2 separate regions of the Homo sapiens genome follow, and region 1 is linked to region 2. Evidence: promoter capture Hi-C in 16 types of primary human blood cells and fetal thymus (Javierre and others, 2016). All regions are on one chromosome and are shown on one strand. The core of a region is centred on a gene start or on the middle of the fragment in contact, and the rest is flanking DNA. Distances in the headings are between cores, read along the strand shown. Region 1 overlaps LOC100505782 (a long non-coding RNA gene). Region 2 holds the start of KRTAP4-4 (keratin associated protein 4-4).

What was found. Contacts are between HindIII fragments. The CHiCAGO score rates a contact against its expected background, and 5 or more counts as called.
Region 1: a fragment that was not itself captured here is called in contact with the fragment with the promoter of KRTAP4-4 in region 2 in 2 of 17 cell types (total CD8 T cells and naive CD8 T cells); the score reaches 6.0 in total CD8 T cells.

Annotation. Positions count from the first base shown.
Region 1 is chr17:41,403,043-41,405,742 of GRCh38, reverse strand. All of the region lies in intron 1 of LOC100505782 (a long non-coding RNA gene), which reads right to left. Among named protein-coding and RNA genes, the nearest start is that of KRT31, 6.8 kb to the right of the region's middle. RefSeq lists an enhancer at 854-2,053. The HindIII fragment of the contact is 2,100 bases long and covers 242-2,341 here.
Region 2 is chr17:41,159,467-41,162,197 of GRCh38, reverse strand. It overlaps KRTAP4-4 (keratin associated protein 4-4), which reads left to right and starts at 1,450. Exons shown (of 1, transcript NM_032524.2): 1 at 1,450-2,549. The coding sequence starts at 1,507. The coding sequence ends at 2,007. The HindIII fragment of the contact is 13,067 bases long and covers 1-2,731 here.

The DNA of each region.
Region 1 (2,700 bases), core at 42-2,541, 240 kb before region 2:
GAATTTGTAGACAGTAGAACATGAATCAGAAGCCCCAGAACAGGTAACTTAAATTGAGCTTTTAGGATGACATGCCCATTATGAACAAGGCACTGGCTGGGGCTTCGCCGACATTGTGTCACAGGGCACCACATCAGCCCTGCAAAGAAGAAGCAGCTGTTATTATTCTCAGTTGGTTACTGAGTCAAGACTTGAAACCTAGTCTCTTTGAACCAGATCCAAAGCCCGTTCTTTGGAAGCTTTGAGGGGGAAACAAATTAAACATGAGAAGGTTTAGGACAGTGGTTCTTAAAGCGTGGTCCGCCAGCAGGTAGCACTGGCATTACCTGAGAACTTGCTAGACATGCACATTCTTGAGCACCACCCCTGACTTACTGAACCAGCATTCTGCTTTAGCATGACTTGCAGGTGATTCTGATGTTGGTTCAAGTTTGAGAAACACTGGGTTAGGAAGTTTATTTGAGGAATGAGCCCTTGACTAGCTAGACCCTCTACAGAAAGGGCTGGCCTTGCCGTCCTGATATGTCCTCCAGTGAGGAATCCCTCATACCATCAGATCAGGATAGAGCCTTTCTCTTTTACATTGCAAAACTCTGAAAATGTTACATGATAGTTATTTCTATCAGTCTAGAAAGGCCCAAACAAGCTGACCCATCCAACCTCCCCAGTAACCCCCATTGGTGAGTCCTTATGGCAACTGTCTGTCTTGGAATTTGCAGATGGTAGAACATGAATCAAAAGCTCCATATTTTGATAGCCGTGGCTGAGAATCAGCACATCTCCAGAATTCAGCATCACAGCTGGCCAGAGAAGAGAAGCAGTGAGTTCCCTATCCTTGGAGACAAGCAGAGGCTTCAGAATCACTGATGGGGATGTTGAGGGGAACACTTAGGGAACTGATGGGGCTGGTTGAGATGGCTGTAGCCCCCCTAACTCTGTGCGTCCCTGCTTTCTATGTCTTATTGATCAGTGAAACCACAGGCATTGAAGTGGAACCACCAAATCTACTTTAGGAGCTGGTTTTGGTCTTCCCTTTCCCTCTGTGAATTCTCTGAATCACTGTAGTTTGCTGAAAAATTTACAAGTACAGCTGGTTCTGGTTTAATCCAGGTCTTCCTGATACAGCGGTGTGGTGCTGGAGTGACCACAGTCCCGAGCCCCAAGGCTGGAGGGAGCTTAAGTGAGAATCTTGTTGCTCTGCCTCCAACTGCTCTCAAGCCCAGCGTCCTACTTGTTGGTCACTGCTCATGTACATAGGACTGATCTGCTTGAGAGACACTGGGATTTCCAGCATAGGAAGCCCAAGAAGGGTCAGAGGCTGCCACGCCCTCCCCTCCTCTGTTCTTTTTCTCAAGTGGTAAAACTGTTTTGGCACACGTGACACACCCCTTGGGCACCTACCCAAGAGAAGCTCTCAATAATGAAGAGCCATCTCGATTAGTCTTAATTTAGTACCTGACCCAGCTGCCCTCATCTCCTTTGTACTTAAATAGCTCCTTTCATCCAACAAGTTCAAAGCTGTCTAACAAAATAAACCCACTTATTCTTGCACCATGACGGCACAGGCAAGCATTGTCCTTCCCATTTAAGGGAGAGAGAGAGAAGGTGAGTCATTCAGTGGTTAAGGGATTCTGCTGGTGACATAAAGTGAGTCAGTGGGGCCCCAGGGTGATTGACCTGTGTTTCTTAAGTTCACATCCAGTGCTCTCTCATTTCTAATTAAAAGATTAGCTTTGATGAGACAGTACATGTGTGTGTGTGCACGCACATCTGTGTGTTTGTCGTGTGTGAAGAGTTTCCCTGGAAACCACAGAGGTCATCATTACCATCACCATCACCAGAATCATCATCATCATCATCATCAAATCATATAGCTTCACCATCATCATCATTGTCATAGAACCATATATCCATCAAGCTCTTACTATGAGCCAGGCGCTGGTCTAAATTATAGCTACAGTCATATGGGTAAACTCATTTAATCATTACAACAATCCTAGAAAGCCAATGCTATGGTTTTCTCATTTTGCAGACAAGTAGCCAAGACTCAGAGAGGCTAAGTAACATGCCCAAGGTCACACAGCTATTAGGTGGTGAAGCCAGGATTCAGATCCAAGCAGCCTGCCTCCAGCAACTGTGCTCTTAACTACTGTGCTTTACAGAGGCCAAGTCTCAGATTTTGTCAAAAGGATGATAGAATCATAATGACCCCATTGTTTTGATTCCTTTCCTTGAAGGAAATGAGTATGTTTATGTTAGAAGAAACGTTTCTGAGAATTTATGCCACAAAGGGTGGTACAAGGAATAAAAGTCCTTTAGTATCTCACAGGATCTTGAAGCTTGAGGACTCTGGCAATTTTAATAAACTAGGAGTTGACAAAGAAGCTCAACTCACTTCCTGCCATTTTAAAACCACCTTGTCTATTGAGAAAGAGGAGGAGGGAAACAGAATCCCTATAGATGTTCATTGTTTCACCATTTACAAAACACTTGTTAAAGTACTTTGTGTTGTATCCAAATGGAGGCCCCAAACAACCTTGAGAGAGGGGAACAGACATCACAATCCCCATCGTGCAGTGGGAGAAGTACAGGTGTAGGGAGGTGAAATGCCCCCTCTGCACCTCACAGCAGGTGAGGGGCAGCTCCACGCACTCAACCCCAAGTCTTCTCATTTCTTTTTCCCTGCTCTTTCCCTGTTCC
Region 2 (2,731 bases), core at 201-2,700:
AGGGCCTTAGGAGATAAAGGTAAATACATATATATATAAATATATATATTTCTAAATATGTTATTGTATATATTATATATATATTTATACATACTATTAAATACAAACATATATGAAGAATATATATTATATATTCATAAATATGTAAATATATATATTCCTATATTACCTATATATAAGGTTCTCTATCTACCCATCTATATATGTATAATATATATATATATTCCTAAGGTCCTTTGGCAGAATATATATATTCCCCCAAACCTGTGTGTGTGTGAGTGTATATATATATATACATATACATCAAAAGAAAATTATGGGCCTAGAAGAATTAAAATCACCCAAGGTCAGACATAATGTGTGTGTATGTGTGCGTGTGTGTGTGTATATATATATATATATATATATATACACACACACACGCACACATACACACACATACATACACACACATATATGTGTGTGTATGTGTGTATATTTATATATAGTGTGCATATTTATATATAGTGTGTATATTTATATATAGTGTGTATATACGTGTGTGTGTATACTATATATAGTATATATATGTATATATATAATATATATTATATATATATATATATATTATATATATATAGCAAGGACACTGGGTCCTTTACCTTAGGTTGGCAAGTAAACCTTAGAAATAGAGGAGATGACTCAATGTGATTGTTAAAGCCAGAGAGACAGGAAGGAAAAGTCAGAAGGAAAATCAGCCCCTCAGAGCAGAGAGCGGAGGGACCTGAACCTTTTAGTATAGCTGATCTCTGTAGCCAATTTCCCCTAAAGGCCCTGAAACTGAGTTTTGGAGTGTTGTTTCTCAAGAAAAAGAAGCATCGATAATTCATGACTTAGATGTCCACCTTAAAACAATTCTGCTTTCCCCAGTAGAACATCTAGAAAATGGGTCATGATTCATTGTATGGAAGGTGGCAAGGAATATATCCTAATAGTATTTGTTTTCATGCCACTGGTCACCTGTTTCACATTCAAACCTTCATTGCTCACTTGATCTATAACAAACATGCCATGAGATTAAAGCACAGCTTTCTCCTCCTGAGTCACCAAAAGAAAATTACGGGCCTAGAAGAATTAAAATCACCCAAGGTCAGACATAATGTATTAAGGAAAATGAGGCTGCAGCACATGGTACCTGCAGGCAGATGTCACATGGCAGCTCAAGGAGGAAGCTGCAGCAAGAGGCACACAAGAGGTTGTTCAAGAAGAGCTGACCTGAAGAATCCTAACACACCAGGGGAAGGAAATAATGCTTTTCTCCATGTTGACAAATTTAAGCAGAAAAACAAACTTGCCTAATTTGATAATTGCCTGCTCATCAGAACAAACAATGACAAGGAAAGAGTGCTGCATCCGATGACATCAGCCCTGAGCAGGGTATAAAAGAGGATCTGGGGCAAGGAGACTTCCAAGCCTTCCAAACCCTCCTTCCTGGAAACCCACCCAGAACCTCCACCCTCTGACACCATGGTCAACTCCTGTTGTGGCTCTGTGTGCTCTGACCAGGGCTGTGGCCTAGAGAACTGCTGCCGTCCCAGCTACTGCCAGACCACCTGCTGCAGGACCACCTGCTGCCGCCCCAGCTGCTGTGTGTCCAGCTGCTGCAGACCCCAGTGCTGCCAGACCACCTGCTGCAGGACCACCTGCTGCCACCCCAGCTGCTGTGTGTCCAGCTGCTGCAGACCCCAGTGCTGCCAGTCTGTGTGCTGCCAGCCCACCTGCTGCAGACCCCAATGCTGCCAGACTACCTGCTGTAGGACCACCTGCTGCCGCCCCAGCTGCTGCAGGCCCCAGTGCTGCCAGTCTGTGTGCTGCCAGCCCACCTGCTGCTGCCCCAGCTACTGTGTGTCCAGCTGCTGCAGACCCCAGTGCTGCCAGACCACCTGCTGCAGAACCACCTGCTGCCGCCCCAGCTGCTGTGTGTCCAGGTGCTACAGGCCCCATTGTGGCCAGTCTCTATGCTGCTAGCCCATCTGCTGGCAAACCACCTGCTACAGGACCACCTGCTGCCACCCCAGCTATTGCATTTCCAGCTGCTGCCAGCCTTCCTGCAGTATCTCTAGCAGCAGTAGCTCCTCCTGCTGTGGCTTCAGCTGCTGCAGGCTCTCCTGCTGCATCTCCAGTTGCTGCCGCCCCAACTGCTGCCAGACCATGTGCTGCCGCCCAACCTGCTCTAGTGCTTCTTGCTGCTGAGGCTGTCATCTGGACTCACCAGATTCTCATCAACCAGCATTCTTGATGTAGCTCATCTATGAGCTGAGTTATGGGAAGCTAGTTGGAAAACTTCAGTTCCAACCAATTCTTAGATTGAATCTGGCCTCCAAATATATGCTCCCCCCACATTTTACCTCTCTACCAAATGAACATAAGTTGTAATTTGCTCTGAAATCTGTCAACTATCTTAATTGAAATATTTGCTCTCTGCCATAATTTCTCATATGGAGCTATTCCATTTTAAACAAATATTTATCTAAATAAATCTTAAATAAATTTTCAGGCATAGAAATATACAGATACTGTGTCTCATTATTTTTCTTTTTTGAGTGTGGTCAATTACCAGTCAATTTTTCTGTTGTTCTTCTCTGCAGAATGTAATTTCAGGGGCACCACCTCTATTTCCTCAGCACACTTTATTCTAATATACAATGGTGGTTTCTTAGAGCAAGCACCTGGAACTCTCTTCTTGAAGAGT